Linked DNA regions of Homo sapiens: region 2 is linked to region 1. The links are contacts of gene promoters, found by promoter capture Hi-C in blood cells and fetal thymus (Javierre and others, 2016). All regions are on one chromosome and are shown on one strand. The core of a region is centred on a gene start or on the middle of the fragment in contact, and the rest is flanking DNA. Distances in the headings are between cores, read along the strand shown. Region 1 holds the start of COMMD8 (COMM domain containing 8). Region 2 overlaps NIPAL1 (NIPA like domain containing 1).

Region 1 (4,485 bases), core at 991-3,490:
ACTCAATTTTGAATCCATTCAAAATTCTCTACACCTTATCCTATACTGTCCCCATGCTAAAAAAAAAACCCAGAACTCAAACTGAAAAATAAAAGCATTATCTTTTTTGGAATATGTTTGTTATTCATTCACAAATATGTAATGAACACTTCATCCCAGTTATTAAATAAAGTCATGGAAATGACCTTATTTAATGACAAAGGTCATGGAAATGACTTTATTTAATGGCAAAGAAACTATAATAGCTACCGTTATGGATCCCTAACTAGGTACCACACTCTGGACTGATCCTCACTACAACTCTGAAGTAACCATTGTTATTATTTCTATTTTACAAATGAGGAAACTGAGAATAAATAAGGCCCTACCATAACAGAGCTTTAGTCCATTCGAAAAAGGCAAACATACAAATACATGTAATTTAGAATGATGGGGCCATAATAAAAATATATACAAGGTACGAAGGAGCACAGAGAGGAAGCAAGGAAAAGTCCATCTTAAAAGGATGAGTAGTTGGCCAAGCAAAACAGGAGAGAAGAAGTGCATTTCTAGACACAAGCAAGTTATTTTGGGGGGTGCCTAGGGGGTGACAGGAGACAAGGCTGGAGAGGTGGGTGGAGCCAAATCAAAAAGGGCCTTGTGTACAAAGTAAAAGAGCCTAGACTTCAATCTGTGCTCAACCGGGAAGCAACCTATTCACACATTTGCATTATTTTTCCATATATTTGCTAACAGGTTGGAAGATGTAAGAGAGAGGGTGAGCCCAGATGCCTCAATTTTCAGTTAAGGAGTTAAAGATTAAGGGGCTTAAATTGTTGAGGACACTCAAAATGGAGGCAGTAAAGAGGTAGAAGAGATGTGAAAAGGGGGGGCCATGGATGAAACCTAGAACGTCAGGTTGAGAGGGGCTGGGTGAAAGTGGTGGTGCCACAAACCGAAAATGAGGCTACGGGAGGAGTAGGTCCAGGGGGAAAGAAGAGCTGAGGCAAGGGCATACTGAATTTGAGGTACCTGTGGCAGAAGCCTGACACTCAGGGAAGAGATTTTGGTTTGGGGTTTTTGGGGTTTTGTTTTGTTTTTTACCTGGCATTCTTGAACCATAGAGGAAGAAATTTTTGGCTGGACCTAAAGATTTAGAAGTCATCGACATATATGGTAATAAAGGTTATGGGCCTTATCTAAATGGGTAGAGTGAAGACAAGGAGAGCCAAAAGCCAATAAAACACTCAGAATCAACAGATCTGAGCATAAGTTCCAGCTCTGCCACTAACTGGATGGGCAATCCTGGGCAAGTTAGCCAAAATTTCTGCTGACATTTCAGGTTCCTCACTTGCAAAAACAAAGAAAAGAATTAGGTGTTTTTTTTTCTTGACCCTGGCAGGAGGTAAGTTCATTCCTTTCTGTCTCCTCCACACTTTCTCCAGTATAAATGGAATAGAGGAAACAGGAAGCCAAAATTGAGACTTATAAAAAAGATGCTCCACCAGGGCACAGGCTGTGTCTCACTCACCATTTACCTCATCCCATCGGGGCGCTCAATCTATGGTAGACTTCAATGAAAAACTGGCTGAACAAATGAATGTGGTTGCTTTTTCCAGATTCTTACAAGCCAGGTTCTTTTACAGACTGGAAGTCAATGGGTACATCACCTCTTGGGACGATCCTAACTAAAGTAACTCGCCCAGTTATTTCTCTTCCTACCAACCACCCTCAAGGGGGGAGGCAGGGTCCGCTTCGGTCTTTGTCACATTGTATTCCAGCACCTAGCTCTGTACCTGCTGTCCGGTAGGTAGGGAGCCTTTGGGAGGTTATGTGTTGAATGAATTAAGAAAACGTATACTAAGAGGCAGCAAACACCGACTTAAGCTTTCAAAGCCCAGTCTGGTGTGGGCGCTTCTGCGCGCAAAGCCCCTGGAGCTGCACCTCTAGGCTGGGGGTGGCGCCCCAAGCTGTCCTCCTAGGCTCCCCAGGGAAGGCGGGGACCAACCACCCGAAATCACGCCCCTTCCTCCTCCCTTCCCTAGGGAGCTTGCGAAGGCGTCCGGGTCGCACCCGGCCTGATCCGCACGCCGGGCTGTCGCGAATCCCAGGCCCCGCGCCGCTTCCCCCGGTACCCGCCCTCACCTGCGGGCCCAGCTCGGCCGGCAGCTTCTGCAGCCGCCACAAGGGCGTCCCCTCTTCCGGCTCCATCCCTGCGCGAAGCTGGGGCTTGGGTCACGTGTCAAGGCTGGCCGCTTGTCTAAAGCTACGACTCGCCCACGTGACTCTCGCCGGCGGGGAGGGGCGTGGACCCAAGAAGTCCCTGTGCGCTTGCGCAGAGACCGAACTACCGCTTTCCCCGTAACCAGGGAGACTGCAGTTTGCAGTGATGTGGCTAAGATACCCTTGTGCTATTAAAGGCACATTTACGTATCTTTCAACGCAGTTTGTACCTTTGTTTAGGGTTCTATTGAACTTTCTCTGTGCTCTTTAGAAAACCGTCGAATAAAGGTAACCATCTTTTTGGGTGCCTGGGCATGGTCATTGTCCCAGAGTTTTAACAGAAGTCTCTACTAAAGTATCCTGATTTGCAAGGTAAATTAAGGTTTTGCCATGAGCAACGTTCTGTATATAGATCATCCTAGGGAGAAGGTACTATTTTCAGCCCTATTTGCAGAAAGCAAACATGATTAGAGAAGTCACTAAGGTTGTCAGATTTAGCAAATGAAAATACCAAGCGTCCAGTTAAATGTGAAATTTCAGATAAACAATAATATTTTGTTGTAAGTATCCCCTAAATATTGTATGGGATATATTTATACTGAAAATTATTTGTCCATCTGAAATTCAAATTTAACTGGTGTCCTGTATTTTATCTGGCAACGCTAAAAATCACTGACCTAAGTAAGAGGCCCAGTCTGAAGTTAAACAAAATCAATCAGACTCAAGAGCCATGCTATTAATGTTGGACTAAGCTCAAAGTCCAAATATCCTTTCTGTTATTTCTTATTACAGCTGTTACTTTAATCAGGTGCTGAAGAATTCAGTGGTGGTAAAATGAGCATGTCCTGCAAAAGCGGATAATAATAACTAGTAGACCAGAAACAGGAATTACAATCTAATTTATAAATTTAATAATAAAAGTGGTGCAAAATGGTGAAGCAGAAGAGAAAGTATTCAATCTATGGGCTACGCAGAGAAAAACTACTCATTAGCAGCATTCTAGGTTTACCTCCTACGTCCTTTCTCTGTGTGCCTCAACTCTAAAAGGTGAAGTCAATTTCTTTCTCCCGTGAGTTTTCATGATATTTTAGCTGTCCCTCACTTATTTACCACTTTCTAGTTCTTAATGCAGATAGATGCACAACACTCATTGCCCTATCTTAAATGTAATTGTCTTAAGATACTTTGTGAATAGGAGCTCCCCTAGTAATAGTTAAAATGAGAAGTCTGGAAAACTACTTCACCTGAGTCTTTCTGTAAATCTAATGATGGGTAAGGTCTATTTTGAGAAAAAAACTTAAATTTTATGTATTATAATAATTGGGAGAAAAGTACTTTCAAGCATCTACTATATGTCAAACCCTTCATATATTTTTATCTTACTAATTCCTGCTACAGCCTTGTACAGTGGGTATTACAGATGAGGAAATGAACTTGAAGTAATATATTTTGTAAGGTCACATAGATAGTAGTTACAAAATCACTGGTCTGAGGCCAGAAACGGTGATCTCAGTTTGCATGCTTGACTACCCCTGCTGAGGAACTGAAATGATATGGCTTACCTAAGGCCACGTAACATGACTAAATAAGGTAAAATGACACACCTAACAGGGCCCAAGGTTTAGTCAGAGGACAGAGAATTAGGTCCTAACTCATCTTTCAAGCAACACTGAGTACTAAGAAGAATTTGATCTTTACTCTTGAATTTGGATGGGACAAAATTTAGCCTGCAACAAATATGGTTTCCAAAATAGTTAACAACTTGCAAGAGAGACAGCGCTTAATATTTGCCCTTTGATTAGTAAGAGGATGTTCTTATGTGTGTAATCCAAGAGGTTTTCAAAACATATGTCTGTCTCTTGTAGTTCCATCTCTATGAGGTATATTCTGGTCTCCATCTCCCAAATCTTATTTGTACTATAGCAATCTTTAAATGCATGAACTCTGGAGCTAAACTTCATAAGTTCAAACCCTGGCTCTGCAAATGACTATGTACTCTGGGCAAGCTATTTTCACTTCTCTGTGTTTCTCATTCCTTACAACAACCCTGTAAATTGTATAATTGGTTATAATGACAGCCTAGGATTTACAGGGTGGTTGTAAGTTGATATATGTGAAGTTCTTGCAATGAAGTCTGGCCTGGCACATAGAAAATTGTATTATATTCCCTTCTATGTGGACTTCTTTGCTCTACTGTTATCTAGCCAAAGTCTAGTGGGTTCCAGAAAGTTACCCTCCTAGTGAACTGTCACTGCCTTAGAGATGTGATCTGCATCTGAAACC
Region 2 (4,779 bases), core at 767-3,266, 570 kb after region 1:
AGGAAACCTTAATATTCCAAGAAAACTGCCACGGTTTTTTTTAGACAGAGTCTCGCTCTTGTCGTCCAGGCTGGAGTGCAGTGGCGTGATCTCGGTTCACTGCAACCTCCGCCTCCCAGATTCAAACGATTCTCCTGCCTCAGCCTCCAGAGTAGCTGGGATTAAAAACGCTTGCCACCACACCCGGTTAGTTTTTGTATTTTTAGTAGAGATAGGGTTTCACCATGTTGGCCAGGCTGATCTCGAACGCCTGACCTCAAGTGATCTTCTCCCCTCTGCCTCCCAAAGTGCTGGGATTACAGTCATGAGTCACCATGCCCGGCCTTGCCGTGATTCTTTCGATGATAGCAATGTCTTAATTATTCTGTTCTGTAAATTTAGATTTGTTTAATGATGTTTTCCTAATGGTGAATACTCCTATAGATTTGGGGGGATGTAGCGTAGCAGCCAGACAAAGGGAAAAAGAAAAAAATCATGCTGGTGTTCCTTTCTCTCTCTACAATAAGCATTTGCCTGGTGTAGTTGCCAGCATGAAATACTACATTCTGTGGGCAAGTTTCCCACTGTGTTCTGTGAGAATAACTTGGCCCCAGTACCAGAGCCCAGCTCTTGAAGGGATTTCTCTCACTCTAGAAGTTATTTATAGCACACTATATCATGCAAGTCTAGAGTTCCTCAGATAAGAAAAAGATTACATTCAGGAGCATATCATGACTTTAAAACAGCTGCCTGGATCTCGTTAAGCTACTGAGATACTGTTACTTGCTTATAGATCACTTACAATAGAGGGATATCTAACTTCATGGGCCTATGGCAGGTATTTCTGGCTATTCCCTACCTACACACCAGATTTAACCATTCTAATTTTCCAAGCTGGTTTTGGTTTCTGTGGGTAACCTACAAAGCTGTAGGTATTCTTGAGCAAGTGAAATAATTCTCTGCTTACTACAAAGCTACCTCTACTAGATTTCATTAGAGTCACCAAATATGTCTTCAATATTGAAGTAGCTAAAAATTTCTATTGAAAGCCATTTAAAATGAGTACTCATCTGTCACCATTTTTTGCATCTTTTGAGTTTATCACCTGGTATTACAGTTTGTCTGCATCTCTTAATATTAATTATCTCCTACCTGCTATAAAACATGTTACATCATTCTTTTTAGCTAGATCTTCCCATGTATTTGGGTTAAAAGTCCACTGCTTTGCATGAGTCATTTGTTTTTCTCTTCTGACAAGTAAGCCCATTTTTTATATCAATATCTCTGCTTGCTTTCTAGTGGGAGCAGGAGAGGCTGCAAATTTTGCTGCTTATGCTTTTGCACCTGCCACCTTGGTCACCCCTCTGGGTGCTTTGAGTGTTCTCATAAGGTATGTGAGCAACAGGGAACTTGGCTTCTGTAGGTATTTTAAGACCAAGATAAACTTAAACCATAATAAACATATGGCTATGGATATCTAAAAGCAAACACACAAATCTAGACCAACCTGGGCTCTAAAAGTCTAGATGAACCCAAATTATTTCTGAGGCTCCTGGGAAGCTTTGGTCAAGTCACTCAGGCTCAGTTTACTCATTCATAAAGTGAGAACAATACTTTTTCTTGCCTGAAATCACAAAAATAACTTGAGAAGACTATAAAATAACAGTAGAAATAGGAAATAGACTGTCACATTATTATTTTAAAAACCTAAGACACAGTGAGTTTGATTTCCTACTAACATAAATGTGTTTTACATTTGTAACACTGCAATGAAGCATAGAAGATTTTTTAAATCTCTCATCAGAACAAATTGCCAGAGTCCTGTCAATTATTTTCCTCATCATAGTGGTTAATGACCATAGTTATCAGAGGACTTTTACAAGCATGGTGTTTTGGTTAAATTTTAACTCTCACTACAATTCTTGCATTGTTTGCTGGATACTTCTGTTTGGAGACCCTGTAGTTTTGATAGTGGAAACAGGAATAATTTTCCTATTTCATGGAATGTGGATCTAATTTTTCTGAGTTTATTATGATCCCAAATGAATGTGTTTGATAAGCATATACATTTTTGTCTGTTCTTTTCTTGTCTTTTTGTTTTCTATTCATTACCAACCTCTAGTATAAAACCTATGATTGAGCCTACTAAATTCTTTTTAGCTTCTGTATAGGATTGTTATGAAAATTAAGTGAGTTAATACACATAAAGCACTTCAAACACTTGTCTATGCAATGAATAGCTAGTAGTAGTAGTAGTAATAGTAGTATCTTCACTAAGGCTGCAGTCCTAAAGGTGGCCACATGAGGGCAACTCTAGGAAAGTACCTGGTAATTTATCATAATCTTGAGGACAGATGGGTACTTAATTGCCTTCATGGGGATGCCAGAGCATTAGAGGAAGGAGGCTGGCTTGCAGAAACCACAGCAACTGAAGCATTAGCAGTACTGGATAGGTCTAAGTATCAGAGCAGTAACAGGTGGTAAGGAAGTATTTTGATATTTTGAAAGTCTGTATCAAGCTTCTCCAACCCATGGCCCATGGGCTGCATGTGGCCCAGGACGGCTTGGAATGTGGCCCAACATAAATTTGTAAACTGTCTTAAAATATTATGAGTTTTTTTTGTGATTTTTTTTTCTTTAGCTCATTAGCTACCATTACTGTTACTGTATATTATGTGTTGCCCAAGACAATTCTTCCAGTGTGGCCTAGGGAAGCCAAAAGATTGGATACCCCTGGTCCGTTTGATTGTAGTGGTGTGAACTAGCTGATTATTAGCCCTGAGCAGAGTAATTTTTCTTTAGGAATGTATCTTTCTTGGAAACATCCATGGGCATACATATTCTAAATGTATCATGCCAGTAAGATATAAAAGATTTTCTATTTTGTTTGGCTTTACAGGAAAAGATGGGTAAATTGAAAATGACTTGAGTAGAACCTCTTGTAAGATCACTGGAAGATTATGGGATATAGAATATTATAGCTCTTTAGATATAAAAACAGTGAAGCATATTTGATTGCCCATCAGTTCTGAGTTTCAAACCAATCTAGGGTTTCAGTGTCATATAGCATATTCCAGTCAGCTCATTGGGATACATGGTGGCATGTACCACAGTGTGACTTCTGAGCTGCCATGGGATCAAAAGGTAATTGAGCTATAGTGATTTTTAATTTTTTCTCTCCCAACAGTGCAATATTATCTTCCTACTTTTTAAACGAGCACTTGAACATTCATGGGAAAATAGGCTGCATATTAAGTATATTGGGGTCAACTGTGATGGTTATCCATGCCCCACAAGAAGAGGAAGTCACATCTTTGCATGAAATGGAAATGAAATTGAGAGACCCAGGTCTGTGATTCAACCTAAAGAACCACTCAAATTCTGCTCCACTTTCTCTCCTCACCAAATAGTATCTGTAATAATATTGTAATAAGCTTTCTACATTGTGGGCCGCATTGTGGGTTGTGAGACACAGTGAGGTTTGATTATTATTTCTCCTGAAAAGATGGCAGAACTTATTTTTGTGTTCATGCTTCCCCTGTTACACAATGAAAGGGAGAGGTGGGGATGGTAGAGGCAAAAGACATATATTCAAAATCAAATCTTTGCCACTCTCTTCCTCTGAAAATAAAAAGTTAATCTGATAATATTCGCCCTAGCTCATAGTGGTATTGGTGAGATTTAAATGATATGTTTGTGAAAATCCTTTGTAAAATATTGAGAACTATGCAATAGAATGTTGTTTTTAATTTGATCTCACTTCTATTTCTAAAATACCTATGCTCTTAAACTCATGACTAACAAGATTTCAGAAAGGTATAATCCTGTGAGCATTTTCTAAAGTCAAATTCTTTTCTCCTTCTAACAGGGTTTATTTCCTTTGCTGTGATCATAACTGTGATCTCCTTGGTGCTGATTTTGATTGTGGCTCCCAAGAAAGGACAGACCAATATATTGGTTTATATTTCAATCTGTTCCTTGATTGGAGCGTTTTCAGTTTCTTCTGTGAAAGGCCTGGGAATTGCCATTAAGGAGCTGATAGAATGGAAGCCAGTTTACAAACATCCGCTGGTCTTTGTTTTGCTGGCTGTACTTGTGCTTTCAGTAACTACACAGATTAACTATCTCAACAAGGCACTGGACACCTTTAATACCTCTCTTGTGACACCCATTTATTATGTATTCTTCACATCCATGGTAGTGACTTGCTCTGCCATCTTATTCCAAGAGTGGTATGGCATGACAGCTGGAGATATCATTGGGACCCTGAGTGGATTCTTCACTATTATCATTGGCATCTTCCTTCTACATGCTTTTAAAAATACTGACATTACTTGGAGTGAGCTTACATCCACTGCTAAGAAAGAAGCCGTCTCTCTGAATGTCAATGAAAACAATTATGTTTTACTAGAGAACTTGGAGTGTTCAGCCCCAGGATACAATGATGACGTTACCTTGTTTAGTAGAACTGATGACTGAAGTCTCTAGAAACACTGAGTTTTAACCAATATGAGACACACGAAGAGGAAAATGAATGCTTGCTTCTTGGAAGAACTGCTAGGAAAGTTAGCATTTTTGCAGTTCTAACTAATTTAGATGTGAGGCCAAGTAAAAATGCCATTTTTTTGGCCATTGAATTTGAAAATCAAATTGATTATCCTCCAGAATCTCTACAAACTTTGAAATACTCTCTAAGGATCAAAGAAGTCAAAGAGCTATGTGTGTCTCAGAATAATCTCCTTCTTCTGGTCACAGTATCTTTGTCTCTGCCAGGTGGCTCTTCATTTCTTTGGTAGCTAT

The links. The method cuts DNA at HindIII sites, captures the fragments that hold promoters and counts their contacts. A CHiCAGO score of 5 or more calls a contact.
Region 2: a contact is called between a fragment that was not itself captured here and the fragment with the promoter of COMMD8 in region 1, in 1 of 17 cell types (total B cells). The highest score is 6.4, in total B cells.

What each region holds. Positions count from the first base shown.
Region 1 is chr4:47,461,462-47,465,946 of GRCh38, forward strand. COMMD8 (COMM domain containing 8) reads right to left here and starts at 2,241. Exons shown (of 5, transcript NM_017845.5): 1 at 2,125-2,241. The coding sequence starts at 2,190. It overlaps LOC107986277 (a long non-coding RNA gene), which reads left to right and starts at 2,422. Exons shown (of 3, transcript XR_001741683.3): 1 at 2,422-2,490. RefSeq lists a silencer at 1,972-2,231 and an enhancer at 3,880-3,929. The HindIII fragment of the contact is 2,743 bases long and covers 1,865-4,485 here.
Region 2 is chr4:48,031,715-48,036,493 of GRCh38, forward strand. NIPAL1 (NIPA like domain containing 1) reads left to right here. Exons shown (of 6, transcript NM_207330.3): 4 at 1,279-1,369; 5 at 3,167-3,327; 6 at 3,848-4,779. The coding sequence ends at 4,458. Among named protein-coding and RNA genes, the nearest start is that of NIPAL1, 17 kb to the left of the region's middle. The HindIII fragment of the contact is 959 bases long and covers 1,538-2,496 here.